5 separate regions of the Homo sapiens genome follow, and all the other regions are linked to region 4. Evidence: promoter capture Hi-C in 16 types of primary human blood cells and fetal thymus (Javierre and others, 2016). All regions are on one chromosome and are shown on one strand. The core of a region is centred on a gene start or on the middle of the fragment in contact, and the rest is flanking DNA. Distances in the headings are between cores, read along the strand shown.

The links. The method cuts DNA at HindIII sites, captures the fragments that hold promoters and counts their contacts. A CHiCAGO score of 5 or more calls a contact.
Region 1: a fragment that was not itself captured here is called in contact with the fragment with the promoter of COX6A2 in region 4 in 5 of 17 cell types (M0 macrophages, M1 macrophages, endothelial precursors and 2 more); the score reaches 7.2 in M0 macrophages.
Region 2: a fragment that was not itself captured here is called in contact with the fragment with the promoter of COX6A2 in region 4 in 8 of 17 cell types (M0 macrophages, megakaryocytes, M2 macrophages and 5 more); the score reaches 8.3 in M0 macrophages.
Region 3: a fragment that was not itself captured here is called in contact with the fragment with the promoter of COX6A2 in region 4 in 9 of 17 cell types (M1 macrophages, M0 macrophages, total CD8 T cells and 6 more); the score reaches 14.1 in M1 macrophages.
Region 5: a contact is called between a fragment that was not itself captured here and the fragment with the promoter of COX6A2 in region 4, in 2 of 17 cell types (monocytes and M1 macrophages). The highest score is 5.6, in monocytes.

The regions. Positions count from the first base shown.
Region 1 is chr16:31,250,402-31,256,039 of GRCh38, forward strand. No RefSeq gene overlaps it. Among named protein-coding and RNA genes, the nearest start is that of ITGAM, 6.8 kb to the right of the region's middle. The HindIII fragment of the contact is 7,238 bases long and covers 637-5,638 here.
Region 2 is chr16:31,293,752-31,299,912 of GRCh38, forward strand. ITGAM (integrin subunit alpha M) reads left to right here. Exons shown (of 30, transcript NM_000632.4): 13 at 3,763-3,903; 14 at 3,994-4,203. Among named protein-coding and RNA genes, the nearest start is that of ITGAM, 37 kb to the left of the region's middle. The HindIII fragment of the contact is 613 bases long and covers 1,064-1,676 here.
Region 3 is chr16:31,172,601-31,178,619 of GRCh38, forward strand. It overlaps the pseudogene NDUFA3P6. Among named protein-coding and RNA genes, the nearest start is that of FUS, 4.5 kb to the right of the region's middle. The HindIII fragment of the contact is 8,665 bases long and covers 1-6,019 here.
Region 4 is chr16:31,423,885-31,430,111 of GRCh38, forward strand. COX6A2 (cytochrome c oxidase subunit 6A2) reads right to left here and starts at 4,476. Exons shown (of 3, transcript NM_005205.4): 1 at 4,369-4,476; 2 at 4,131-4,267; 3 at 3,847-3,973. The coding sequence starts at 4,441. The coding sequence ends at 3,890. ITGAD (integrin subunit alpha D) reads left to right here. Exons shown (of 30, transcript NM_005353.3): 27 at 1-74; 28 at 218-319; 29 at 583-693; 30 at 2,131-2,621. The coding sequence ends at 2,244. The HindIII fragment of the contact is 1,386 bases long and covers 3,851-5,236 here.
Region 5 is chr16:31,232,536-31,238,249 of GRCh38, forward strand. No RefSeq gene overlaps it. Among named protein-coding and RNA genes, the nearest start is that of PYDC1, 18 kb to the left of the region's middle. The HindIII fragment of the contact is 1,302 bases long and covers 2,790-4,091 here.

The DNA.
Region 1 (5,638 bases), core at 3,006-5,505, 170 kb before region 4:
ACAGACATAAGCCAACGTGCCTGGCCTCAATTTTTTTTTTTTTTTTTTTGAGACAAAGTCTCACTCTATTGCCCAGGATGGAGTACAGTGGCTTGAGCTCGGCTCACTGCAACCTCTGCCTCCTGAGTTCAAGCGATTCTCCTGCCTCAGTCTCCCAAGTTGCTGGGATTGCAGGCATGTGCCACCACACCCAGCTAATTTTTGTATTTTTAGTAGAGATGGGGTTTCACCATGTTGGTTAGGCTGGTCTTGAACTCCTGACCTCAGGTGATCCGCCTGCCTCGGCCTCCCAAAGTGCTGGGATTACAGGCGTGAGCCACCACTCCCTGCCAGGCACCACTTCTTTTTATCCTTCCTGTCAGCCCGAGGGTGGACTTGGCGCTGGGCCGTCTTTGACCAGGCGGATGAAGACAAAACCCTCAGGATGGCAGAGCAACCTGCTGGAGGGAGCCTGGATCTCCAACACCATGGAGCCTCCGTAACCCCCAAATGCTGATGCTGGGGCCATCACAGGACTGTCTGGGCTAAGCCTCTGTGATTTTGGGTCTTATTACAACAGTTGAACCTTAGTCTCCACCAATACAAATAATCATCTTTGCCGGTGGGGGCGCATCTTACATGCCAGGCACTGTGCTAAGCTTTTCACATGCATTATTTAATTTAACCCTTACAAAAACTCTGTTAAGTCACACATCAGTTAGGGCCTTTTGGGGAAAAACAACAGAACAAGTAGAACATGAGATTTACTGAGTACCAAGTAGCCTATTCCAGGAATTAGTAGTTTTGTTTCCTGCCCTGCTCAGGTTAGGCCCTGAGCAACTCCTCCTTTCAAGGTTGGGAGGCAAGAACTTAGAGATGGTGAAATGGCTGTCGCTGCCCTGCAAGTCACCTGTGGCCAACCATGCTCTTTGTGTGACCTTGGTCGAAACACCTGGGACTCACAAAGCCTGTGGTAGAACAATTTCCTTGGCCTGCCAGACATTTGGCCTGCTGCATGGACAACTGAGGTGGCAAGGGAAGCATCCAGAATGCTTCCCACTGAGCGACAGGCAGCTTTCAGCCACCTACCTCTGTGTGTCATCGAGGGTGCGCTGGCCAGGTCATCCATCAACCCAACACAGTTGGTAGAATGATTACAGCGAATGTTGACTACATGCACTTTGACATCTATTATTATCTCATTTAACTATCACAATCACCCCAAGATGTTAGTACAATTATTGCCCCCATTTTCCAGATGAGGACAGTGAGGTCCAGAGAGTAAGTTGTTCAAGGGCATACTTATAGACCTAGGATATTTTTATTCTTTTTTTTTTTTTTTCTGAGATGAGATCTTGCTCTGTTGCCCAGGCTGGAGGGCAGTGGTGTGATCTTGGCTCATTGCAATCTCCGCCTCCTGGGTTCAAGTGATTTTCTTGCCTCAGCCTCCTGAGTAGCTGGGATTACAGGCATGTGCCACCATTCCCGGCTAATTTTTGTATTTTTGGTAGAGACAGGGTTTCGCTATATTGTCCAGGCTGGTTTCAAACTTCTGACTTCAGGTGATCCACCTGCCTCAGCCTCCCAAAGTGCTGGGATTACAGGTGTGAGCCACCACACCCGGCGTAGACCTAGGATTTTAGTGCCCTTAGTCTGATTCCAGACCCAAAGGCTTAACCAGATGGCTGAGGATGACACTCAGGTGGAACTTTTTTTTCTTACTTTTTTTTTTTTTTAAGACAGGGTCTCGCTGTGTTGCCCAAGCTGGAGTGCGGTGGTGCAATCAGCTCACTGCAGCCTCAATCTCCTGGGCTCAAGTGATTCTCCCACCTCAGCCTCCTGGGTAGCTGGGGTTGTCTCACGTGTCCATGTGAAGAGACCACCAAACGGGCTTCGTGTGAGCAACAAGGCTGTTTATTTCACCTGGGTGCAGGCGGGCTGAGTCCGAAAAGAGAGTCAGCAAAGGGTGGTGGATTATCATTAGTTCCTACAGGTTTTGGGATAGGGGGTGAAAAGCCATGTTTTGCGGGCAGGGGTGGATCTCACAAAGTACATTCTCAAGGGTGGGGAGAATTACAAAGAACCTTCTTAAGGGTCGGGGAGATTACAAAGTACCTTCTTAAGGGTGGGGGAGATTACAAAGTACATTGATCAGTTAGGGTGGGACAGAAACAAATCACAATGGTGGAATGTCATCAGTTAAGGCTATTTTCACTTCTTTTGTGGATCTTCAGTTGCTTCAAGCCATCTGGATGTATACATGCAGGTCACAGGGGATATGATGGCTTAGCTTGGGCTCAGAGGCCTGACAGGATCACAGGAACTTTTCTTGACAATCCAGTGCAATGGAAAAACAGTATTTTATTCTTGTTCTTCCCACAACTTTCTCAGGAGGGCGGATCCTGTAGCAAGTTTCTTCGAGTGTGGTGAGCGAAGCAAATTGGAGGAGCTCAGACGGAGATAATTTGTCTGTGTAGACAAGGAAGGAAATTTGGAGAGGTGGGACTGGGAGATTTTGTTGGGAAGAGAGAAGCCGTGACCCTGGGTGCTGTGCAGGAAAAGGGACGATGAAGACCTGATACCTTCATTCCCCTGAGAGCAAAACTGGAAAATGTTGAGGAATGTGGCAAAGAAGGTTTGCGAAGTTGAGTATAGAGAGTCATGTGATGCAAAACCCACTTGTTTGAAGGAGGTGGGCCAGTGAGCCTGCCGATCCCTGGGGGAAGATTGGTTCCATCAGAGGGAACAGCCAGTGCCATGGCCTTCAGGTGGTGGTGTGCCTGGCAGGTTTGAGGAATGGCAAGGAGGCCAGGGTGGCTGCTGTCCCAGAAAATGAGGTAAGCTCAGAGAGGTAAGGGCTGGGGTTGGGATGACAGGTCATGCAGGTCCTTGTAGGTTGTAGAAAGGACTGGCTTTTACTATCAGTAACGTGGGAGCCTTTGCAAGGTTTTGAGCAGAGGAGTGGCATGATATGTCTTGTGTTTTGAAACAATCCCTCTGACTGCTGTACTGAAAATTGACTTCGGCTGGGCACGGTGGCTCACGCATGTAATGCCAGCACTTTGGGAGGCTGAGGTGGGAGGATGGCTTGAGGCTAGGAGTTTGAGACCAGCCTAGGCAACTTAGTGAGACCCCGTCTCTACAAAAAGATTGAAAAATTACCTGGACATGGGGGCGCATGCCTGTAGTACCAGCTATTTAGGAGGCTGAGGTGGGAGGATCATTTGAACCCAGGAGTTGGAAAAAAGAAAAAAGGCAGTCAAAGGACTGAGCTCTGAGATCCTTCTGAAGAGGTTGGGAGAAGAGGAGAATCAGCAAGAGAAACTGAGAAGGAGGGTCATGGGCGGTAGGCGGGAAGCAGGAGAGTGTGGGGTCAGAGGACAGATGTAGAAATCAGTTCCAGGAAGCGAGGGCCGAGTGTCAGAAGCTGCTGCTGAGTCACTCAAGATGAAGACAGAACTCATCACTGGAGTCACTCAGGCAGCCTTGGTGACCTTGATAAAAATAGTTTAGGTGGAGTAGGTGCCGGGTTGGAGCACAGGCTTGGTTGGAATGGGGTTAAGGGAGGATGTGAGCAGTAGAACAGGGTGCAGCCAACACAGACAACTACTTTGGAGAAGTTTTGCAAAAGGGAAGTAAAAAATGGGCAGTGGTTGATGAGGGGAGTGGAATCAAAGAAAGTCTTGTTTGCTTTTTCAGTAGGAGAAATGTATTGTTTCTGATGGGAACACCAGATTTCTACATACGTATTTTGTATTCTTTCCGAGGGTCTTATATACTTATTCCAGAGCCAACACTGTACTTTTACCTACTGTGGCTTTAGAATATTGCTTTGATAGGGTACTTGTTATGGAATAACATGACATTGTAAGGTATGTCCCATTGCTTTATAGGCTATTGCTGTGTGTTTTCTAGTCCAGTCAATTTTTGAATCAGCACGTCAAATTCTAGAAAAATTCTGCTGGGTGAGATTATAATGAATTTGAGTAATTAAATGGAGAACCGACATCTGTACTGACATCTGTAGTCTTGTAGTCTTGTCATCCATGAAGATGACATATCTCTCTATTCTTTTTTTTTTTTTTTTTTTTTTTTTTTTTGAGATGGAGTGTTGCTCTGTTGCCCAGGCTGGAGTGTGGTGGCACAATCTCAGTTCACTGAAACCTCTGCCTCCCGGGTACAAGCAATTCTCATGCCTCAGCCTCCCGAGCAGCTGGGATTACAGGCATGCACCATGATGCCCAGCTAATTTTTGTATTTTTTGTAGAGATGGGATTTCACCATGTTGGCCAGGCTGGTCTCAAACTCCTGGCCTCAAGTGATCCACCCACTTCAGCCTCCCAAAGTGCTAGGATTACAGGCGTGAGCCACTGCACCAGGTCAATAATCTTTTTTTTTTTTTTTTTTTTTTTTTTTTTTGAGGATGAAGTCTTGCTCTGTTGCCCAGGCTGGAGTGCAGTGGCATGATCTCGGCTCACTGCAACCTCCACCTCCCGGGTTCCTAGCATTCTCCTGTCTCAGCCACCCGAGTAGCTGGGACTACAGGCGCATGCCACCATGTCTGGCTAATTTTTGTATTTTTAGCAGAGACGGGTTTTGCCATGTTGGCCAGGCTGGTCTCGAACTCCTGATCTCAGGTGATCCACCCACATCAGCCTCCCAAAGTGCTGGGATTACAAACGTGAGCCATCATGCCCGGCCAGTAATTTGTTTAATTACATATCTTTTATAAGCTCTTTCTTTCTTCCTTCTTTTTTTTTTTGAGACAAGGTCTCACTCTGTTGCCCAGGCTGGAGTGCAGTAGTGTGATCATGGCTCACTGCAGCCTCCAACACTTGGGCTCAAAATGTCCAAGGGACATTTTGCGAAGTGCGTTTTCAGGGAGATAGTTTGATTTCCCACACCTGTTTGATACATATTAATGTTTAATTAATTAATTATTTATTTAATTAAAAAAATTTAAGAGACGGGGTCTTATTATGTTGCCCAGGCTAGAGTACAGTGTATGGTGGCATGATCATAGCTCACTGCAACCTCGACCCCTTGGGTGCAAGTGATCCTCCTGCCTCAGCTTCCTGAGTAGCTGGGACTACATGTGCATACCACCACACTAGATAATTAAAAAAAAATTTTTTTTAAGAGACAGAATCTTCCTATGTTGCCCAGGTTGGTCTTGAACTCCTGGGCTCAAGCGATCCTCCCACTCTGGACTCCCAAAGTGCTGGTATTACAGGCAGTGAGCCATTGTGCCTGGCATTAGCTCCTTCTTTTCCTCACTTTCCCACCAGTGTTTCCGGAATCACCTTCCAGATAAATTACTTACACTTGAAGCCTTGTCTCAGAGTCCACTTATAGGGGAAATCAAGCTAAGATTTTATCAAGAGTGGGGATGGGGGACAGGTAGGAGGGAACAGCCAACAGCTTATAGATATGTCCCCACCCACGGTCACCAGGTCAGGTGCACACTTGGTGGTGGCTCATTGAGAAAGCCTCTGCAGGTTGGACAGCCAGTCTGAGATCTTGCCTATGTTTTTACAGAGAGTGGACCCTTGGCCACTGTTCAGGGCAAGGAGGGGCCTCCACGTCTGAGTTCGAGCAGCCCCCATAGTGGCCAGAGTGTGAAAACTTTTCCCAAAGCAAACCCAGCTGATCTACTAAA
Region 2 (6,161 bases), core at 120-2,619, 130 kb before region 4:
GTTTTTCCTAGTTCTGTGAAGAATGTCATTGGTAGCTTAATAGTAATAGCACTGAATCTATAAATTGCTTTGGGAAGTGTGTCCATTTTAATGATATTGATTCTTCCTATCCATGAGCATGAGATGTTTTACCATTTTTTTGGTGTCATCTCTGATTTCTTTGAACAGTGTTTTACAATTCTCACTGTACAGATCTTTCAACTCTCTGGTTAGCTGTATTCCTAGTTATTTTATTCTTTTTGTGGCAATCGTGAATAGGATTGCCTTCCTGATTTGGCTCCCAGCTCTTGTTGGTGTATAGGAGTGCTAGTGATTTTTGTACATTGATTTCGTATCCTGAAACTTTGTTGAAGTTATTTATCAGCTGAAGGAGCTCCTAGGCCAAGACTATGGGGTTTTCTAAATATAGAATCATGTTGTCTGCAAACAGGGATAGTTTGACTTTTTTACTTCCTTTCTTCCTATTTGTATGCCCTTTTTTCTTTCTTTTGCCTGATTGCTCTGGCTAGAACTTCCAATAATATGTTGAATAGGACTAGTGAGCAAAGGCATCCTTGTTTTGTGCTGGCTTTCAAGGGGAATGCTTTTGCCCATCAAGTATGATGTTGGCTGTGGGTTTGTTGTAGATGGCTCTTATTATTTTGAGGTATGTTCCTTCAATACCTAGTTTATTGAGAATTTTTAACATAAAGGGGTGTTGACTTTTATTAAAGCCTTCTCTTCATCTATTGAGATAATCATGTGGTTTTTGTCTTTAGTTCTGTTTATGTGATGAATCATATTTATTGATTTGCATATGTTGAACCAACTTTGCACCCCGGGAATGAAGCCTACCTGATCATGGTGGATTAGATTTTTGATGTGCTGCTGGATTTGGTTTGCAGGTAGTGTGTTGAGGATTTTTGCATTAGTGTTCATCAAGAATATTGGCCTGAAATTTTCTTTTTTTGTTAAGCTGACACTTTTTAGTTTGATGCCACCCCATTTGTCTGGTTTGCTTTTGTTGCCTGTGCTTTTGGGGTCATATCCAAAAAATCATTTCTCAGAAGCTTGATTGTCAAGAAGCTTTTCCCTTTGTTTTCTTCTAGTAGTTTTACAGTTTCAGGTCTTGTGTTTAAGTCTTTAATCCATTTTGAGTTGATTTTGTATATGGTTTGGGATAAAGGTCTAATTTAATCCTTTTGAATATGAATATCCAGTTCTCCCCACACCATTTGTTGAAGAGAATGTCCTTTCTCCTTTGCATATTCTTGGCACCTTTATTGAAGATCAATTGACCATAAATGCATAGTTTTATTTCTAGCCTCCCTGTTCTGTTCCATTGGTTGATGTGTCTGTTTTTATGCCACCACCTTGCTGTTATGCTTACTAGAGCTTTCTTGACACAGTATGTTTTGAGATCAGGAATTATGATGCCTCCAGTATTTTTTTTCTTGAGGATTGCTTTGGCTATTTAGGGTCTTCTGTGGTTCTACATAAATTTTAGTTTTTTTTCTATTTTTGTAAAAAAATGCCATTGGGATTTTGATAAGGATTGTACTGAATCAGAAGATTGCATTAATACTCCAGTCCATGAACATAGGATATCTTTCCATTTATTTTTGTCTTGTTTAACTTCCTTAATCAATGTTTTATAGTTTTAGTGTACATGTTTTTCACCTCTCTGGTTAAATTTAAGCTTAGGTATTTTTTTTGATGCTATTGTAAATGAGATTGTTTCTTGATTTCTTTTTCAGATAGTTCATTGTTAGTGTATAGAAGCACTATTGATTTTTCACATTGATTTTGTAACCTGTAACTTTACTGAATTTATTCATTAGTTCTAGTAGTTCTTTTTTGGTGGAGTTTTTAGGGTTTTTTAAAAATATATTTATATATATATGTTTTTATATATATATCATTTTAAGTGTAAACAGAGACAAATTTCCTTTTTTATATCTGATTTGGGTCTCTTTCATTTATTTTTCTTGCCTAATTGCTGTGACCAGGACTTCCAGTACTATGTTACATAGAAGTAGTGAGAGTGAGCATTCTTGCCTTTTTCCTCATTTTAGTGGTAAAGCTTTCAATTTTTCACCATTGAGTATGATGTTTGTTGTGGGCTTGTCGTATATGGCCTTTATCATATTGAGGTACATTCCTTCTGTAGCGAATTTATTGAGAGTTTTTATTATAAAAGAATGTTGAATTTTGTCAAATGCTTTTTTTTGCGTATATTGAGATGATCATGTGGTTTTAGTCCTTCATTCTGTTAATGTGATATGCCACATTAATTGATTTGCATATGTGGAATCATCCTTGCATCTCGCATCCCAGGGATAAATCACACTTGATCATGGTTATTATCTTTTTATCTTTTTTTTTTTTTTTTTTAACAGAGTCTCTCTGTGTTGCCCAGGCTGGAGTGCAGTGGCGTTATCTCGGCTCACTGCAAGCTCCACCTCCCAGGTTCACGCCATTCTCCTGCCTCAGCCTCTTGAGTAGCTGGGACTATAGGCGCCCGCCACCATGCCCTGCTAATTTTTTTTTTTTTGTATTTTTAGTAGAGATGGGGTTTCACCATGATTTCCAGGTTGGTCTCGAACTCCTGACCTCAGGTGATCCACACGCCCTGGCCTCCCAAAATGCTGGGATTACAGGCATGAGCCACTGCATCTGGCCGGTTATATGACTTTATATGTTTGTCAAAACTCATAAAACTATGTACTAAAAGGCTGAATTTTATTGTATGTAAACTCTTCCCCAATAAATCTGACCTAAAAAACAATCAAATTCTGTTGACTTTAGGATAAAGTATTCAGTTATCAATGAGTCTTCCCTCAATGGTGTATGAGGCAGAAATCACGTTGCAGAGCCGTGGCATGATGTCCCCTGCACATTCCCTTTCTAGAACTTGTCCCAGTTTGAAATTGCTATACACATCTCCCTGTTAATCCATTGATTACTCTCCTCTCCTCCACCTGGCTGCACTGAGGGCCCTGGAAGGCACTGTATCTCTATTACCCAGCTGTGTGCTTAGCAATAAGAAACACTTGTTTGTTGAATGAATGAATAAATGAATGAATGAATGTATGATTAAATAGGTGAATTTTATGGATGAATTCTACATATTGACCTTGAAGATATTTCTTAATATCACAACAAATATTCAAATAACAAATAGTTATTTTTAATCTAAGCCAGTTATTAGCCTTATTAGTCAGAGTGCCAACTTTGACTTTTTACCTCCCTAAAGATTCCCAATATATTGAAAGGGTGGTATTCTGTCTTCTCTTCTAGAATTTTCTATGTATTTTCCAACCCAAATTCTTCTTTGCTGCCTTAATAATCTCCCAGGAATACCACCTGGAGTAAATCCTCACTCACTGCCCATTGACTCTACTATAGGCTTATTTTTTATCTTTTAAATTATTAAAAAATATATATATACACTTAGAGATTGGGATCTTGCTCTGTTGCCCAAGCTGGAGTGCAGTGGTGACAAAGCTCACTGCAGCCTTAAACTCCTTGGCTCAAGGGATCCTCCCACTTCAGCCCCCCGAGGAGCTGGGATTACAGGCAGAAACCATTCTGCCAGGCTTATTATATAGGTTCCTTTAGCTGGCAGCACATTCAAGTGATAATTTATCATGAACCATATAGAAGATCACATCTGCTCCAGAGGGATTCCCCCAGCAGGCATAACTTTTCTTCAGAGAGAGAAAACCTCCACATCTGCTTTAGGTGGGAAGAGGTGTGTGATTACGGTCCTGTCTCTTTCAGATCGGCGCCTACTTCGGGGCCTCCCTCTGCTCCGTGGACGTGGACAGCAACGGCAGCACCGACCTGGTCCTCATCGGGGCCCCCCATTACTACGAGCAGACCCGAGGGGGCCAGGTGTCCGTGTGCCCCTTGCCCAGGGGGGTGAGTGGCAATGGGACCTGGGCTGGGTGGGGCCCGGTGTGGGTGGAGGGGTCGCCTGGGTTGGGGCCTGATACTGTTTGTGTTTAGCAGAGGGCTCGGTGGCAGTGTGATGCTGTTCTCTACGGGGAGCAGGGCCAACCCTGGGGCCGCTTTGGGGCAGCCCTAACAGTGCTGGGGGACGTAAATGGGGACAAGCTGACGGACGTGGCCATTGGGGCCCCAGGAGAGGAGGACAACCGGGGTGCTGTTTACCTGTTTCACGGAACCTCAGGATCTGGCATCAGCCCCTCCCATAGCCAGGTGAGACCTGGTCACTGTCCTTGTCATGACAGTAGCCTCTTTGTTGATCTTTCTCCTAATTCAGTGTGCCCACAGCTGCCAGATAAGTTCTCACAGTACTCCTTTCAGAACCTTCAAAAATAATAACATGTGGCTGGGCCTGGTGGCTGACGCCTGTAATCCCAGCACTTTGGAAGGCTGAGTTGGGAGGATTGTTTAAGCCCAGGAGCTCAAGACCAGTCAGGGCAACATGGTGAGAACCCATCTCTCCAAAAAAAAAAAAAAAAAAAAAAAATTAGCCAGGTGTGGTGGCATACACCCATGGTCCCAGCTACTCTGGAGGCTGAGGCCGGAGGATTACTTGAGCCTGGGAGGTTGAGGCTGCAGTGAGTCCTGGTCACACCACTGTACTCCAGCAGCCAGAGTGACAGAGTCAGACTTGCACATGCATGCGTGCACGTGCACACACACACACACATTCACAGAAATCTCAAAGACTCTTAGTTCCAGATTGATTATTTCTACAGCAATAGGAGGTGCATGATAGCCTCATCACCCCCACTTTACAGATGAGTAGATCAAGGCCCAGCGATGGCAAATGGCAAGCTAGCAGTATTGGGATGCAGGCATTCCTTTCTTCTGAATCTCGGTCCTGGTAAGGTGACCAAGAGCTCTAGTTTGCTTAACTCTGTCCCAGATTTAGTACTGAAATCCCACATCCTGGGAAACCTATGCGGTTGGCCACCTTACGGGATTGCACACTTCACAGATGTGGAATTGTGCAGTCACACGTGCCCCTCTCTCAGAATCGCCCTGTGCTTGGCTTAATGCTCTGCTATTGCCATCTTCAATTCTTAGTAATTTTTCAACAAGGGGTCCTACGTTTTTTTGCATTGGGTCTTGCAAAGCATGGAGCCCATCCTGATGACTTGTCACCCTATATTCTGGACCTGACAACTGTTTTGCTCTGTAAGTTGGCTTTCTGTCTCCTGCCAGGTGGAGCCCACTGTCTGGAGGGACCCTTACAGTCTGGTTCCATCTTCCCTGTTCATATTCTTTCCCACCATAGCCACCTGAGACCATCTAGTTTTCTGGCCTCTGGTCTCTGGGTTTTTGCTAGCCTTACATTTTTCTTTCTTTATGTTTAAAAATTTTTTTATTGTGGTAAGGGCACTTAACATGAGACCTATCCTCTTAACAGATTTTAAAATGTACAATGTAATACTGTCATCTATTGGTGCAATGTTGTACAGCAGACCTCTTGAACTTCATCTTGCATATTGAAAATGTATACCCATTGATTAGCAACTCCTCATTGTTCTCTAGCCTCTGGCAGCCACCATTATATTCTTTGCTTCAATGAGTTTGGCTGTTTTATTTTTTTTTAGTTTTTGAGACAAAAGTTTCAGTCTGTCGCCCAGGCTGGAGTGCAGTGGCACAATCTCGGCTCACTGCAACCTTACCTCCTGGGTTCAAGCGATTCTCCTCTCTCAGCCTCCTGAGTAGCTGGGATTACAAGCATGCACCACCATGCCTGGCTAATTTTTGTATTTTTTGTAGAGACTGGGTTTTGCCATGTTGTCCAGGCTGGTCTTGAGCTCCCGGACTCAAGTGATCCACCTGCCTTGGCCTCCCAAAGTGCTGGGATTACAGGTGTGAGCCACCGCACCCTGCCAGTTTGGCTATTTTAGATAACTCATATAAGTGAAACCACGCCGTATTCATCCTTTGGTGACTGGCTTATTTCACTTAGAATAACGTCCTCCAGGTTCATCCATGTTGTCACAAATGAAAGAATATCTTTCTTCTTTTTCTTCTCCTCCTCCTCCTCTTCCTCCTCCTCCTCCTCCGCCTCCCCCTCCTCCTCCTCTTCCTCCTCCTCCCCCTCCTCCCCCTCCTCGTCGTCCTCCTCTCCTCCTCCTCCTCCTCCTCCTTCTTCTTTTTTGACAAAGTCTTGTTCTGTCACACAGGCTGGAGTG
Region 3 (6,019 bases), core at 1,932-4,431, 250 kb before region 4:
GCGCCTGGGTGGCTTGCCGGCCACAGGCAATGTGATGAGACCCAGTCTCTACAAAAAACAAAAATGCTGGGGCGTGGTGGTGTATGCTGCTGGGGAGGCTGAGACGGGATGATCTTTTGAACCCAAGAGATTGAGGCTGCAGTGAGCAGAGATTGTACCACTGTACTCCAGCCTGGGCGACAGGGCGAGACCCTATCTCAAAAAAAAAAAAAAATAGCTGGGTGCGGTGGGTTACGCCTGAGTCCCAGCACTTTGGGAGGCTGAGGCGGGTGGATCACAAGGTCAGGAGATCGAGACCATCCTGGCTAACACAGTGAAACCCCGTCTCTACTTAAAATACAAAAAAAAAATTAGCCGGGCATGGTGGTGGGCGCCTGTAGTCCCAGCTACTTGGGAGGCTGAGGCAGGAGAATGGCGTGAACCTGGGAGGCGGAGCTTGCAGTGAGCCGAGATTGCACTACTGCAGTCCAGCCTGGGCGACAGAGCGAGGCTCCATCTCAAAAAAAAAAAAAGTCAACTCCTCAGTGAAGGCTGACCCACCCTACTCACTGCAAAAGTAATCACTCTTCCCCTGTGGCAGGTCTTACCCTGTATAATACCCTCCTCAGCTACCATGCTGTGGTGCATTGTAGGAGTCAGTTTGCTTTTAAATTGGTCATTATATGCACATAGTGAAAAATTAAAATATAAAAGGATCTAGGAAAAGTGAATTTCCTTCAATCCTTGACCCCAAGTTCCCCAGATTCCTTCCTCAGAAATAGGCTATGACTTGTTTTTCTTCTTCCAGAGATATTTTATGCATAAGTAAACACATATATATATATATCCCTAACTGTTCTCCTTCTCTTTTTCTTTTTTCTTTTTTTTTTTTGTGACAGGGTCTCACTCTGCTGTTCAGGCTGGAGTACAGTGGCACAGTCATAGCTCACTGCAGCCTTGACCTCTTGGATAGTACCCCACCCCCCTGCCCCAGACTCAGCCTCCCAAGTAGCTGGGACCACAGTCACACACCACCAAACCCAGATCATTTTTAATTTTTTTGTAGAGACAGGGTCTCACTATGTTATTAAATGATCCTCCTGCCTCGGCCTCCCAAAGTGCTGGCATTACAGGAATGAACCACTGAGCCTGGCCCTCTTTCTTTTTTAGAAACCCAAATAGAGGCCGGGCACAGTGGCTCACGCCTGTAATCCCAGCAATTTGGGAGGCTGAGGCGGGTGGATCACGAGGTCAGGACATTGGGACCATCCTGACAAACATGGTGAAACCCTATCTCTACTAAAAATAAAAATACAAAAAAATTAGCTAAGCGTGGTGGCGGGCGCCTGTAGTCCCAGCTACTCTGGAGGCTGAGGCAGGAGAATCGCTTGAACCCGGGAGGCGTAGCTTGCAGTGAGCCGAGATCGTGCCACTGCACTCCAGCCTGGGTGATAGAGCGAGACTACGTCTCAAAAAAAAAAAAAAAACAAAAACCCAAATAGAGGCTGGGCATGGTGGTGCAGGCCTGTAGTCCCAGATGCTGGTAAGGCCAAATTTGGAGGATTGCTTGAACCCAGGAATTTGAGGCTGCAGTGAGCTTTGATTGCACCACTGCACTCCAGCCTGGGTGACAGATTGAGATCCTAACTCAAAAGAAAAAAAAAAGGAGGCCAGGCATGGTGGCTCACGCCTGTAATCCCAGCGCTTGGGAGGCCAAGGCAGGCAGATCATGAGGTCAGGAGTTCGAGATCAGCCTGGCCAACATGGTGAAACCCCATCTCTACTAAACGTACAAAAATTAGTTGGGCGTAGGGGCACGTGCCTATAATCCCAGCTACTCGGGAGCCTGAGGCAGGAGAATTGCTTGAACCTGGGAGGCGGAGGTTGCAGTGAGCCGAGATCGCGCCACTGCACTCCAGCCTGGGTGACAGAGCAAGACTCAATCTCAAAAAAAAAAAAAAAGGCCGCTGTCATCACCACCGAGACCAAGAAGGCCACGAGACTCAGCACCTTCCTCAAGATTTCCTGGGCCAAGGAGCCAGTGCTGGTCTTGTCCTCTGTCATCCGGAGCCTCACTGTAATTCTACCCCCACTTAGTCCCCACACCAAGTACTCCATCATGATCAACGAGGCAAGGCCCTACAACTACCCAGTGCCTGTCTGCAATGATGGGAACATGCCCGATGTGCCCAGCCACCCCCAGGACCCCCAAGGCCCCAGTTTGGAGTGGCTGAAGAAATTGTGAGCACCTCCACTGCCAAAGGAGGACCCTCCCATGGCTCCCACTAGAAATGTGAAAACCAACCTCTCCCTGCTCAAAAAAAAAAGAAAAGAAAAAGAAAAATTGCATTAAATATTTGATCTAGGCCAGGCGCAGTGGCTCATGCCTGTAACTGTAACTCTAGCACTTTGGGAGGCCGAGGCAGGAAGATTGCTTGAGGCCAGGGGTTCAAGACAAAACTGGCCAACAAAATGAGACCTTGTCTTTAAAAAATAAATTCTGGGGCTGGGCGCAGTGGCTCATGCTTGTAACAGCACTTTGGGAGGCCGAGGAGGGGTGGATCACGAGGTCAGGTGTTTGAGACCAGCCTGGCCAACATAGTGAAACCCCGTCTCTACTAAAAAAAAATACAAAAAATTAGCCAGGCGTGGTGGCGGGTGCCTGTAATCCCAGCTACTTGGAGGCTGAGGCAGGAGAATCGCTTGAACCTGGGAGGCAGATATTGCAGTGAGCCGAGATCGCGCCATTGCACTCCAGCCCAGGCAACAGTGCGAGACTCCATCTCAAACAAATATATATAAATATAAATAAATATATATATATATGTAACTTCCTGGCACGATGGCACAGACCTGTAATCCCAGCACTTTGGGAGGCCGAGGCGCGTGGATCAGGAGGTCAGGAATTCAAGACCAGCCTGGCCAAGATGGTGAAACCCTGTTTCTACTAAAAATACAAAAAATTAGCCAGGCGTAATGGTGGGAGCTTGTAATCCCAGATACTCGGGAGGCTGAGGCAGAGAACTGCAAACTCCGGAGGCGGAGGTTGCAGTGAGCTGAGATTGTGCCACTGCACTCCAGCCTGGGTGACAGAGGGAGACTCTGTCTCAAAAAAACAAACAAAAAAATTAAATAAATAAATTAAAACTAACTAACTAAATAAATATCTGGATATCTGAGCTGGGTGCAGTGGCTCATGCCTCTAATCCCAGCACTTGGGAAAGCAAGGCAGGCAGATCATTTGAGGTCAGGAGTTCGAGACCAGCCTGGCCAACATAGGGAAACCTCATCTCTACTAAAAAAATTAGTTGGGTGTGGTGGTGCACATCTGTAATCCCAGGTACTCAGGAGGCTGAGGCAGGAGAATTGCTGGAACCTGGGAAGTAGAGGTTGCAGTCAGCTGAGATTGCAGCACTGCTCTCCAGCCTGGGTGACAGAGTGAGACTCTGTCTCAAAAAAAAATCAATATCTGATATACGTGTTTATTTTTTTATTGAGATGGAGTCTTGCTCTGTCGCCCAGGCTGGAGTGCAATGGCACAATCTCTGCTCACCGCAACCTCTGCCTCCCTGGCTCAAGCAATTCTCCTGCCTCAACCTCCCGAGTAGCTGGGACTACAGATGCGCGCCACCATGCCCGGCCAATTTCTGTATCTCTAGTAGAGATGGGGTTTCACCAGGTCGGTCAGGCTGGTCTCGAACTCCTGACCTCATGATCTGCCCACCTCAGCCTCCCAAAGTGCTGGGATTACAGGTGTGAGCGAACGCATCTGGCCCAATATCTGATATACATGTTAATTGAAACTGGGTGTGGTGGTCACACCTTTAATCACAGCACTTTGGGAGGATTCCCTTGAGCCTAGGAGTTCAAGACCAGCCTGGGCAACATAGCAAGACCCTGTCTCAAAAAAGAAAAATTTAACATTGACTTTCCTGTCAGAGATAGGAAGTAAATAAGACATTTATGGTGAACTTAAAGCACATATGGCAGCTAAAGGTGACAGTGTCTCACTCCAGCTGACCCTTGCCCTATGGAAGTGGGCCTGGAATGGCCCACTATTTTTAGTGTTGGCAACTAGTTAAAAAAATTAAAACATTCGAGGCAGGTGGATCACTTGAGATCAGGAGTTCGAGAACAGCCTGGGCAATATGGTGAAACCCCGTCTCTACTAAAAATAGGAAAATTAGCTGGACATGGTGATGCATGCCTGTAATCTCAGCTACTCGGGAGGCTGCAGCACAAGAATTGCTTGAACCCGGGAGGCAGAGGTTGCAGTGAGCTGAGATCACGTCACTGCACTCCAGCCTGGGTGACAGAGTGAGACTCCATCTCAAAAAAAAAAAAAAAAGAAAGAAAGAAATGGCCATTTGATTTAGTCTTTCAGAGTCACATATTTTTTTTTTTTTGAGGCCGAGTCTCATCTGCCACCATGCCCAGCCCAGAGTCACAGCTGGAGCCTGAACTCTGCCTCAGTGTCTTCCCCACTTGTGCCTTTGTCTTCGCGGTTCTGCCTATTATAGCCTTTCCTCCCTTGCTGCTTGGCAAACTTCTACTTATCCAGTAAGCCTTGGCTTCAGGGTTACCATCTCTCTTTAGTGTTCTGTGGTTGTCCACCTGATGGATGACTTACTCTGCTGGCAGGGTTTCCAGTCTTTGATTCCATGTGATGGCACTTACTACACTCAAGTACACTTTGTGGTCTGTGTGTCTCACCCACATTCACCCACTGGCTGGTCCTGTGGTTTAGGAACTGAGCTTTTTTTTATCCATATCCATCCAGTCGGCCCCATGATTGGAACATACTATGCAGTGCTCAGGCAATGTTTGCTGAAGCGCAGGGGTTAAGAGCAGGCTACCTGGCTTGGGAACCCAGCTTTGCCACTTCCTGTGTAGCTTCAGCATAACTTTCCGTCTTTCTTTTTTTTTAGAGACAGAGTCTTGCTCTACTCTATCATCCAGGCTGCAGTGCAGTGGCGCGATCTCGGCTCACTGCAACCTCTGCCTCCGGGGTTCAAGCAATTCTCCTGCCTCAGCCTCCTGAGTAGCTGGGACTACAGGTGCGCGCCACTATGCCTGGCTAATGTTTGTATTTTTAGTAGAGACGGGGTTTCACCATGTTGGTCAGGCTGGTCTCGAACTCCTGACGTTGTGATCTGCCCTCCTTGGCCTCCCAAAGTGCTGGGATTACAGGCGTGAGCCACCGTGCCCGGTCAACTGCCTGTCTTTCTATGCTTATTTCCTCATCTGTAAAATGTCATCCTTAGCAGGGCGTGGTGGCTCACACCTGTAATTCCAGCAATTTGGGAGGCCAAGGCAGATGGATCATCTGAGGCCAGGAGTTCGAGACCAGCCTGGCCAACATGGTGAAACCCCGTCTCTACTAAGAATACAAACATTAGCTGGGTGTGGTGGCGCACACCTGTACTCCCAGCTACTTGGGAGGTTGAAGTTGTAGAATCACTTGAACGCGGGAGGCACATGTTGCAGTGAGCCGAGACGGCGCCCCTGCACTCCAGCCTGGGTGACAGAGTGAGACAGTGTCCCCCCAAAAAAAAAAAAGATAAAATGTCATCCTCACATCAGCCTTTTGTTGTGAAAAATAAAATCAAGAGTTTACTCAGTCAGAACAGGGCCTGACAGTAAGTCTTGTTAAAGTGTTAGCTATTACATATTATAGATGAGCACAATGTATATCATTATTAAATGTCAGCTTTATTATTATTATTTGTTTTGAGACAGTCTTGCTCTGTTGCCCAGGCTGGAGTGCAGTGGCACGTCTTGGCTCACTGCAACTTCCGCCTCCTGGGTTCAAGCGATTCTCCCATCTCAGCTTCCTGAGTAGCTGGGATTACAGATGCGCGGACGACGCCTGGCTAATTTTTGTATTTTTAGTAGAGACGGGGTTTCACCATGTTGGCCAGGCTGGTCTCGAACTCCTGACCTCGTGATCCACACGCCTCGGCCTCCCAAAGTGCTGGTATTACAGGCGTGAGCCACCGCACCCGGTCAGCTTTATTATTAAATGTTAACTTCATCTGCT
Region 4 (6,227 bases), core at 3,226-5,725:
TCCCCTCCTTCAGCGTCCAGGAGGAGCTGGATTTCACCCTGAAGGGCAATCTCAGTTTCGGCTGGGTCCGCGAGGTGTGTGGGGGCAGCGGCAGAGCCCCTGCCCCAGACTCAGGCAGGACCTGGCATGTCTGTGCCCATCTGCAAGCCAGGGCACCCCCGAAGCTCTGAGCCTCCCCCAGAGCCAGTTCCACAGGTTTCCCCCAACCCCTTTGCAGACATTGCAGAAGAAGGTGTTGGTCGTGAGTGTGGCTGAAATTACGTTCGACACATCCGTGTACTCCCAGCTTCCAGGACAGGAGGCATTTATGAGAGCTCAGGTAGAGACCATGTGGAGGGCAGCGACCAGCTGGAAAGAGGACCCCTAGGGCTACATCTGTGGTGCTGGGTGGGGGGTTTGCAAGCCTTGCGGGAGGAGGGTGAAAGTCTCTGGGCAGGACAGCTGTCCCTAAGGGCACGGGTGCTACTGTGTCTCACTCCTTGGAGCAGAGCCTCAGAAAGGAGGGGAGAGAGTTAAAGGTTGCGGAACCTGGGAGGCATCTGGGATGGCATGAGGCCGGATGCTCTCTGATCTCTAAATCAGATGGAGATGGTGCTAGAAGAAGACGAGGTCTACAATGCCATTCCCATCATCATGGGCAGCTCTGTGGGGGCTCTGCTACTGCTGGCGCTCATCACAGCCACACTGTACAAGGCAAGTGTTTTATCCAACTCTTTTTTTTTTTTTTTTGAGATGGAGTTTCCACTCTTACTGCCCAGGCTGGAGTGCAATGGCATGATCTTGGCTCACTGCAACCTCCACCTCCCGGGTTCAAGTGATTCTCCTGTCTCAGCCTCCCGAGTAGCTGGGATTACAGGTGGACTGCACCATGCCCGGCTAGTTTTTTGTATTTTTAGTAGAGATGGAGTTTCATCATGTTGGCCAGGCTGGTCTCGAACTCCTGACTTCAGGTGATCCGCCCACCTTGGCCTCCCAAAGTTCTGGGATTACAGGTGTGAGCCACCTCATCCGGCCTTATCCCATTCTTGACACCACCAGCATCCAACCCAAGCCCTCCTACAGACTGGCTGATATAGTGAGAACTCAGACTGTGGAGGCAGACAGGCCTGGACACACATTTTGGCTCTATCATGTACTCACTGTTTAATGTTAGGCAAGTTGCTCCACCTCTCTAAGCCTGTTTCTCTCTTTCTTTTTTTTCTTTTGAGATGGAGTCTCACTCAGTTGCCTAGGCTGGGGTGCAGTGGCACAATCTCAGCTCACTGCAACCTCCACCTCCTAGGTTCAAAAGATTCTCATGCCTCAGCTTCCCAAGTAGCTAGGACTACAGGCACACACCACCACACCTGGCTATTTTTTGTATTTTTAGTAGAGAGAGGTTTCACCATGTTGGTCAGATTGGTCTCAAACTCCTGACCTCATGTGATCCGCCCACCTCGGCCTCCCAAACTGCTGGGTTTACAGGCATGAGCCACTGTGCCCGGCCGTTTCTCATTTTTGAAATGATAATAATGCTTATATCACAGAGTGGCTGAAGTGAGAGAGAAATGAGGCCAGGGCATGTGCACAGATCTGCCTGGATCTATGCTGTCCTGCCACGGGTCGTGTGTGTACCTACTGTGCTCGGGGCCAGCAGATGCTCGATATATGATAGCTGTTCACATAAATGTTCTCGCACACAAACGTAAGTTAGCTTAGTTGTTGCCTCCTCTTCTCTCTCAGCTTCCTCTTATTCCCAATTTTCTTCCCTGCCCTCTTACCCAGCTTTTCTTTCTTTTCTTTCTCTTTTCTTTTTCTTCTTCTTCTTTTTTTTTTTTACATGGAGTCTTGCTGTCTTGCCCAGGCTGGAGTGCAGTGGCATGATCTTGGCTCACGGCAACCTCTGCCTCCCGGGTTCAAGCGATTCTCTTGCCTCAGCCTCCTGAGTAGCTGGGATTACAGGCGCACCACCACACCCAGCTAATTTTTGTATTTTTAGTAGAGACGGGGTTTCACCATGTTGGCCAGGCTGGTCTCCAGCTCCTGACCTCAGGTGATCCACCCTCCTCAGCTTCCCACAGTGCTGAGATTACAGGTGTGAGCCACCGGGCCCGGACTTACCCAGCTTTTCTAATTTATTTCCCCTGATAGCTTGGCTTCTTCAAACGCCACTACAAGGAAATGCTGGAGGACAAGCCTGAAGACACTGCCACATTCAGTGGGGACGATTTCAGCTGTGTGGCCCCAAATGTGCCTTTGTCCTAATAATCCACTTTCCTGTTTATCTCTACCACTGTGGGCTGGACTTGCTTGCAACCATAAATCAACTTACATGGAAACAACTTCTGCATAGATCTGCACTGGCCTAAGCAACCTACCAGGTGCTAAGCACCTTCTCGGAGAGATAGAGATTGTAATGTTTTTACATATCTGTCCATCTTTTTCAGCAATGACCCACTTTTTACAGAAGCAGGCATGGTGCCAGCATAAATTTTCATATGCTTAAGAATTGTCACATGAAATGAGGATGTTTATAGCACACTTTCCTTGCGTGGAAGAGCTATAACCCAGGGACCTGAGTGCCTCTCTGGGAATAGTCGGGGGAACCTATTTGTGGGCATTGAAAAAGTTTTTTCACTTTCTATGGTGATGGGAGCCTGAGGTCATCTTTTCTTGATGGGGCTGAGAGGTGTGTATCAGGGGAGAGGGTCAAAGAGTGTGTGTGTGTGTGTGTGTGTGTGTGTGTGTGCATGTGCATGCACGTGCACGCAGGCATGCATTGGTCATGGGTTTCTTCACACACTTCAGGTTCCTCTGTAATGGTAAGTGGGCAGGCTGTCCTAGGAGGTGAAGAAATGTCCAGAGCTCATTTGAACTCCTGTCCCCCTTGAATGAGGTACTCAGAAGCCAGGAGAGCCAGGCTAGGAGCATGTGATTTCCCATATAGAAGACTCATTAAGAAAGATTATAGGCCGGGCGCGGTGGCTCACGCCTGTAATCCCAGCACTTTGGGAGGCCGAGGCGGGTGGATCATGAGGTCAGGAGATCGAGACCATCCTGGCTAACAAGGTGAAACCCCGTCTCTACTAAAAATACAAAAAATTAGCCGGGCGCGGTGGCGGGCGCCTGTAGTCCCAGCTACTCAGGAGGCTGAGGCAGGAGAATGGCGTGAACCCGGGAAGCGGAGCTTGCAGTGAGCCGAGATTGCACCACTGCAGTCCGCAGTCCGGCCTGGGCGACAGAGCGAGACTCCGTCTCAAAAAAAAAAAAAAAAAAAGAAAGAAAGATTATAGAGAATTATCAAAAGATTCCAAATCCAGCATTAGGTCCCAAGGCCTCACACACAGGACTGTGGAGCCTCCGTCTGAAATCCAGAGAGCTGGGATTCACAGACACCAGCAGCTCAGGTGTCAGGCAAGAAGTGGGACTTCAGGATCTGCAGCCCTGGGCTCCCATGGGGGCTCTGCCGAGCTGCCGGAACTTGGACAAGTCATTTAATTCCCAAGAATCTCAGGTCTTCCTCGGGAGAAGGTGAACTAAATTTATACCCTGCTCCCAGCGTTACTGTGAGGATTCGGTGTACGCGGAAGCCCATTACAGCCTAGAGCCCTAATTATTAATAGGTGTGTGTGAGAGGGAGGCCTCATTATTACCAGGTGAGAGACAGGGAGCTGGGATCGCCTACCTGTGAGTGGAGGAGGCTCCCTCGAGCACCTCCGTATCAGCGGCGTGGGAAAAGCACGTGGAGCGCCCACCGCGCTAGGCGCATGCGCGGAGCAGGAGCGCTTACCAAGCTGGGCGCATGCGCGGAGCGGGCGCCTCTGGGCGCGCTCCCCGTGGCCCCGCCCTCCCCACAGAGCCGCAGACTCGAAGCTTCACACCTTTATTGTGTCCGGGGGCGTCCGGGGCCTCAGGGGTGTTCGTAGCCCGTGGGCAGAGGGTTCACGTGGCTATTGTGGAACAGAGTGTGGTTGCCGTCCCCCCAGGGGTAGGGCTGTGGAGAGAGCGGGGGAGGGAGCGCGCGTGAGCGCCGTGAGTCCGGAGTCCGCGCCCCGCGCGACCCCCCCCCCGCAGCACCCCCCCCCGCCCCCGCAGCACCCCCCCCCGCCCCCGCAGCACCCCCGTGCCGCCCGCGCGCCCGTCCCGCGTACCTTGGTGCGGATGCGGAGGTGTTGGTAGGGACGGAACTCGGGGCGCGGGCGGTGGCCCGAGTGGAGATAGGAGTTGAAGGTGCAGAGGGCCACGCTGGGCAGCGCCAGCACGAAGGTCAGCAGACGCCAGGTACGAGCTGCGGACGGAGCGGGGTGAGCGCGGCGGTCCTGGGGCGGCGGGCCTGTGAACAGGTGGGCAGGGTAGGGGAGCCCCCGGATCCGCCCGTTCCCCACTCACCTCCTGCTCCTCCGTGGCCTCCTTTGGCAGCGCTGGCCAAGCCCCGGGTCAGGGGCCTCAGAGGCAAAGCCATGATGGTGCGGGGAGCCGGGAACCAGCGCTGTCCTCGCTCCCTTTCCTGGGGCCTGGGGTCACCTCCCCTCTCTGGGCCAATCACCTGTTGAGTCTGGAGCACTGGCGGCTATTCTTAGGGGTTTCTATATTTAAAATGGGGCCTGACTGGCTTGAGGTCATCTCCAGACAGCTGTTGTCCTGTGCCTCTTATTTTGGCAAGGAGGCATTTAAGTACAATATGCCATTCTTTTTATATAGTTGCAGGGAAACTATTTTGTTCCCTATTCTATGCCTGGTGGCTGGCACACAGTTGGGCTTTAATAAATATTTGTAGAATGAATTAAGTGTCTTTTTGAGTCTCAGTGTTTTCAGCTGTAAAATGTATAATAATTCGTACCTTAAAAGATTTTTTAAATACTGGAGACGGGGATCTCACTATATTGTCCAGGCTGGTGTGGAACTCTTGAGCTCACGTGATCCTCCCGCCTCAGCCTCCCACAGTGCTGGGATTACAGGCATGAGCCACTACACGGCCCTTACATCATTTTTATGAAGTTTATGTAAGGTAGGAATGTGTCAACCTGGATTTTGGCAGGTAACAGTAGTTCAGTATATGTATTAGTCACAGTTCTTTGCAAAGAACAGAACTCACTCTTACTAGTTTTAGAAGATAAGTAATTGAGAATCTTAGGTAGCTTACTATGTCTGATATAGCCAGAGATGCCTACAGTCTGCACAGTCATAAACAAGTCATTCCGTTGGCCAGCTGCAGTGACACCCCCACAGCTCACACTGCTGGACCCTGGATGCCAAAAGCTTCATTAAGGCTGCCCTGGAAAACCAGAATTTTCCACCCTCATCCCCTCTTGAAAACAGATTCTTCATGAAACCTGTATCCTGGGTCGCTCTTTTCTGAAAGAATTATGTGATTGCACCAACTGGCAACCCCTAGGTCCCCCAGCTGCAGGAGGGGATGGGAAACTGAGCTCTGGATTCTGCCTTAGGGAGGCAGGAATTGTAGGGAAAATCTCCAGGTCTAGGATGAGTATTCAAAAGGTTCCAGGCAGCCACAAGCCTGACAGGTGTCTACTGCAAAGTGCATTATTTCAATCTGAAAAATATGACTACTTGGAGAAAGCAAGCCTAGACAGGGCTGGTGTGAACCCTCTATCAAAGCAGGTCACAAGAAAGCCACAAGACCAGGCAGGGATGACATCTGCCTGTTCTGTCCTCAGCAACGGGCAGGGACCTTGGCATGAAGGAGGTGTTCTAAAAATATGTATGTAATGAATGCTTGAACCTTGTTACTTTGGTTAACCCTACAACAATGCCTTTTCAGAATTACAATCCAATAGGAAGCTTCTAGCTTTGATCAAGGGCTGATGTACTAATATGAACTTAATATACAAAAGAAGAATGAATTATATAGACATATAATCTGAATTTAATATATAAAAAAAACGAGGAAGATATATTTTCAAGAAGGGGCTCTATACCTGTTTCTCATTGGTAATAAACTGAACAGTATGTTCCATCCAACTTTAAGCTGCTGCTATTTTTAAAAAAAATAACCTCCTTGAGCAGTCAAATGTTATACAGTGTTACAAAAATTATTCCTGAGCTCTCACTGAGCTATAATAGAATTCTTCCTACAGTTTTTTTCCCAGCTGGACTTTGGCATTGTTGCAGAGAAGATGGGGCCCTATTCCAGTTAAAGATACCTGGCATCTCCCTCTACACATAGCCCCCTCCCTACGTATATAAGATAATGGCTCCTGGAGAAAACAGACATGAAGACAGGTATT
Region 5 (5,714 bases), core at 2,191-4,690, 190 kb before region 4:
GTGAGGGGCGCCTCTGCCCGGCCGCCCCTACTGGGAAGTGAGGAGCCCCTCTGCCCCGCCAGCCGCCCCGTCCGGGAGGGAGGTGGGGGGGTCAGCCCCCCCGCCCGGCCAGCTGCCCCGTCCGGGAGGGAGGTGGGGGGTCAGCCCCCCGCCCGGCCAGCCGCCCCGTCCGGGAGGTGAGGGGCGCCTCTGCCCGGCCGCCCCTACTGGGAAGTGAGGAGCCCCTCTGCCCCGCCAGCCGCCCCGTCCGGGAGGGAGGTGGGAGGGTCAGCCCCCCGCCTGGCCAGCCGCCCCGTCCGGGAGGTGAGGGGCGCCTCTGCCCGGCCGCCCCTACTGGGAAGTGAGGAGCCCCTCTGCCCGGCCACCACTCCGTCTGGGAGGTGTACCCAATAGCTCATTGAGAACGGGCCATGATGACAGTGGCGGTTTTGTGGAATAGAAAGGGGGGAAAAGTGGGGAAAAGATTGAGAAATCGGATGGTTGCCGTGTCTGTGTAGAAAGAGGTAGACATGGGAGACTTTTCATTTTGTTCTGTACTAAGAAAAATTCTTCTGCCTTGGGAAAAAAAAAAAAAAAAAAAAAGAGATGTCCACAAAATTTTGCATTGGTGCTGGCCATTTGTATAGGCCTTCAGACTCTCAAAAATGTGAGTTCTTAAAATTATTATTATTTATTTTTGAGACAGGGTTTCACTCCATCACCCAGGCTAGAGTACAGTGGTGTGATTTCTGCAGCCTCGACCTCCCAGTTTCAGGTGATCCTCCCACCTCATCCTCCCAAGTAGCTGGAATTACAGGCACACGCCACCATGACTGGCTAATTTTTTTAAGTTTAGTAGAGATGGGATTTCACCGTGTTGCCCAGTCTGGTCTCAAATGCCTGGGCGCAAGTCATTCACCTGCCTCAGCCTCCCAAAGTGTTGGGATTACAGGTGTGAGCCACTCCGCCTGGCCTAAAAATACTTTATTGCTAAAAATGCTAAGGATCATCTGAGCCTTCAGTGAGTCATAGTCTTTTTGCTGGTGGAGGGTCTTGCCTCAATGTCGATGGCTACTGACTGATAAGGATGGTGACTGCTGAAGGTGGGGGTGGCGGTGGCAATTTCTTAAAAGAATTTCTTAGGCCAGGTGCTGTGGTTCACGCCTGTAATCCCAGCACTCTGGGAGGCCGAGGTATGTGGATCACCTGAGGTCAGGAGTTCAAGACCAGCCTGGCCAACATGGCAAAACCCCATGTCTACTAAAAATACAAAAGCTAGCTGGGCGTTGTGGTGGGCATCTGTAATCCCAGCTACTCGGGAGGCTGAGGCAGGAGAATCACTTGAATCCAGGAGGCGGAGGTTGCAGTGAGCTGAGATCATGCCATTACACTCCAGCCTGGGTGACAAAGTGAGACTCTATCTCAAAAAAAAAAGAATTTCTTAAAAGAAGACAATAATGAGGCTGGGCACGGTTGAGTCATGCCTGTAATCCCAGCACATTGGGAGGCCAAGGCAGGTGGATCACCTGAGCTCAGGAGTTCAAGACCAGCCTGGCCAACATGGTGAAACCCCGTCTCTACTAAAGATACAAAAATTAGCTGGGCATGGTGGCTGGTGCCTCTAATCCCAGCTACTCAGGAGGCTGAGGGAAAAGAATTGCTTGAACCCAGGAGGCGGTTCGGTGAGCCGAGATTCTACCATTGCATGCCAGCCTGGGCTACAAGAACAAAAGTCCATCTCAAAAAAAAAAAAAAAAAAGACTTGAAAGGCAAAATGACTCTTTGATCCATGCACTGCAGAAGAGATGTTGTGTTAGCAGCTGTATTAGTCCATTCTCACACTGCTGTGAAGACATACTTGAGACTGGGTAATTTACAAAGGAAAGAGATTTAATCAGCTCATGGTTCTGTGGGCTGTACAGGCTTCTGCTTCTGGGAAGGCCTCAGGAAACTTATAATCATGGTGGAAGGTGAAGGGCAAGAAGGCACATCTTCACATGGCTGGCGGGAGGTGAGAGAGGTGCTACATGCTTTAAAACAAGCAGCACTAGGGGGACGATGCTAAACCATTAGAAACTGCCCCCATGATCCGATCACCTCCCACCAGGCCCCTCCTCCAACACTGAAGATCACAACCTGACGTGAGATTTGGGTGGGAACACAGAGCCAAACCATATCAGCAGGCATGAAAACAACATTTATCTCTTGGTACATCTCCATCAGAGCTCTTGGGTAACCAGGTGCATTGTCAATTAGCAGTAATATTTTGAAAGGAGTCTTTTTGAGAAGATGTGGTGGCTTGTGTCTGTAATCTCAGCACTTCAGGAGGCTGAGGAGGGAGGATCACGTGAGCCCAGGAGTTTGAGACCAGCCTGGGTAATATAGCAAGACCCTGTCTCTACAAAAAATAAAAAAAATTAGTCAGGCATGGTGGCACAAACCTGTAGTTCCAGTTACTTGGGAGGCTGAAGCAGGAGGATTGCTTGAGCCTAGGAGGTTGAGGCTTCAATGAGCTATGATCATGCCACTGCACTCTGCCTGGGCAATGGAGAAAGAAAGAAAGAAAAAAAGAAAGAAATTTCCTTTTGAGCAGTAGTTCTCAACAGTGGGCTTAAAATATTCAGTCAACTGTGCTATAAACAGATATGTTGTCATCCAGGCTTTGTTGTTTCATTTATAGAGACAGGCATAGTACATTTAACATAATTATTAAGGGGTCTAGGATTTTTGGAATGGTAAATGAGCATTAGCTACAACTTAAAGTCACCAGCAGCATTAGTCCCTAACAAGAGAGTCAGCCTGTCCTTTAAAGCTTTGAAGCCAGGCATTGACTTCTCCTCTCTAGCTATGAAAGTCCTTGATGGCATCTTCTTCCAATAGAAGGCTGTTTTGTCTACATTGGAAATCTGTTGTAAGGTGTAGCCACCTTCATCAATGATCTTAGCTAGATTTTCTGAATAACTTGCAAGTTATCCAGAAAAGGTTTTTAATTGACTTTGCCTAGATCCATCAGAGGAATCACTATCTATGGCAGCTATAGCCTTATGAAATGCATTTCTTTCTTTTTTTCTTTCTTTCTTTTTTTTTTTTGAGACAGAGTCTTGCTCTGTCACCCAGACTGGAGTGCAGTGGCGTGATCCCAGCTCACTGCAACCTCGGCCTCCCAGGTTCAAGCAATTCTGCTTCAGCCTCCCAAGTAGCTGGGATTACAGGCGCCCACCACCACTCTTGGCTAATTTTTTGTATTTTTAATAGAGATGGGGTTTCACCATGTTGGCCAGGCTGGTCTCGAACGCCTTATCTCAGGTGATCCACCTGCCTTGGCCTCCCAAAGTGCTGGGATTACAGGCTTGAGCCACCACGCCCGGCCATGAAATGTATTTCTGAAGTAATAAGACTTGAAAGTCGAAATTACTGCTTGGTCCATGGACTGCAGAATGCGTGTTGTGTTTGCAGGCATGGAAACAACACTAATCTCCTTGGACATCTCCATCAGAGCTCTTGGGTGACCAGATGGATTGTTAATGAGCAGCAAACTTTGGAAATAAATCTATTTTTCTGAGCAGCAGGTCTCCAGAGTGGGCTTAAAACACTCAGTCTTTGGCCGGGCACGGTGGCTCACGCCTGTAATCCCAGCATTTTTGGAGGCCAAGGCGGGTGGATCACCTGAGGGCAGGAGATTGAAACCAGACTGGCCAACATGGTGAAACCCCGTCTCTACCAAAAATAAAAAAACTAGCCAGGCATGGTGGCGCATGCCTCTAATCCCAGCTACTAGGGGGCTGAGGCAGGAGGATCACTTGTATCTGGGAGGCGGAGGTTGCAGTGAGCCAAGATCGCGCCACTGTACTCCAGCATGGAATAGAGCGAGACTCCGTCTCAAAAAAACAAAAAAAAACCAAAATAAAACAAGAAAAACCACTTAGTCAACCATGCTGTAAACAGATGTGCTGTCACCCCAGCTTTGTTCCATTTCTAGAGTACAAGAAGGGTGGATTTAGCATCATTCTTCAGGGCCCTGGGATTTTCCAAATGGTAAATGACCACTGGCTACACCTTGAAGCCCTACCAGCTGCATTAGCCTCTAATAAGAGAGTCAGCCTGTCCTTTGAAGCTTTGAAGCCAGGCATTGACTTCTCTGAAAGTCCTAGATGCCATCTTCTTCCATCAAAGACCATCTCATCTACATTGAAAACCTGTTGTTGAGTGTAGCCACCTTCATCAGAGATCTTCTGGAGAACTTGCTGCGCCTTCTCCATCTGTACTTGCTGCTTCACCTTGTACTTTTATGTTGTGGAGATTGCTTCTTTCCTTAAACCTCATGAACCCTGCTGACTTCCACCTCTGCTGACTTCCAAATTTTCTTCCGCAGCTTCCTCACCTCTCTCAGCCTTCATAGGACTGAAGAGCATTTGGACCTTGCTCTGGATTTGGCTTCGGCTTAAGGGGATGTTGTGCTGGTTTGATCTTCTATCCAGATCACTCAAACTTCCTTCGTATCAGCAATTAGGCTGTTTCACTTTCTTATTATTCACGTTCACTGGAGTAGCACTTTTTTTTTTGAGACAAGATTTCTTTCTGTTGTCCAGGCTGGAGTGTAGTGGTGCAATCACGGCTCATTGCAGCCTGGACCTCCTGGGCTCAAATGATCCTCCCACCTCAGCCTCCTGAGTACTGGGACTGCAGGTGTGAACTACCATGCTGGCTAATTTTTAAATTTTTAAAATATTTTTTAGAGACAGGGTCTCGCTATGTTGTTTAGGCTGGTCTCAAACTCCTGGGCTCAAGTGATACTCCCACCTTGGCCTCCCAAAGTATTGAAATTATTAGCTGAGCCACTGTGCCAGGCCTTGGAGTAGCACTTTAAACTTCCTTCAATAACTTTTCCTTTGCATTCACTATTTGGCTAACTGGTGCAAAAGGCCTAGCCTTCAGCCTATCTCTCAGCCTTTTTTTTTTGAGACAGAGTCTTGGTCTGTCACCCAGGCTGGAGTGCAGTGGTATGATCTTGGCTCACTGCAACCTCCGCCTCCCGGGTTCGAGTGATACTCCTGCTTCAGCCTCCTGAGTAGCTGGGATTACAGGCGCCCACCACCACACCCTGCTAATTTTTGTATTTTTAGTAAAGAGAGGGTTTCACCATGTTGGCCAGGCTGGTCTTAAACTTCTGATCTCAGGTGATCCACCCGATTCGGCCTGCCAAAGTGCTACGATTACAGTCGTGAGCCACTGCGCCCAGCCTCTGTCTCAGCTTTTGAAACGCCTTCCTCGCTAAGCTTAATAATTTGATTTAACATGACGCTTCCTTTGATTTAACATGACCCTTCCTTTCACTTGAACACTTAGAGGACACTAGGGTTACTCATTGTACTAATTTCAATATTGTTGTGTCTAAGAGAATAAAGAGGCACAAGGACTGGGAGAGAGAGGGGAACCACTGACTGGTGGAGCAGTCAGAATGCACACATTTATCCATTATGTTCACCATCTTTTATGGTTGAGGTTTGTGGTACCCCAAAACAATTACAATAGTAACTTCAAAGATCACTGATCACAGATCACCATCACAGATAGAAGAATGATGAAAAGCTTGAAATATTGTGAGAATTACCAAAATCTGACAAAGAGAGGTGCAGTGAGCACGTGCTGTTGAAAAAATGGCACCAATAGATTTGCTTGACGCAGGGTTGCCACAGACCTTCAGTTTGCAGAAAATGCGGTATCCATGAAAAGCA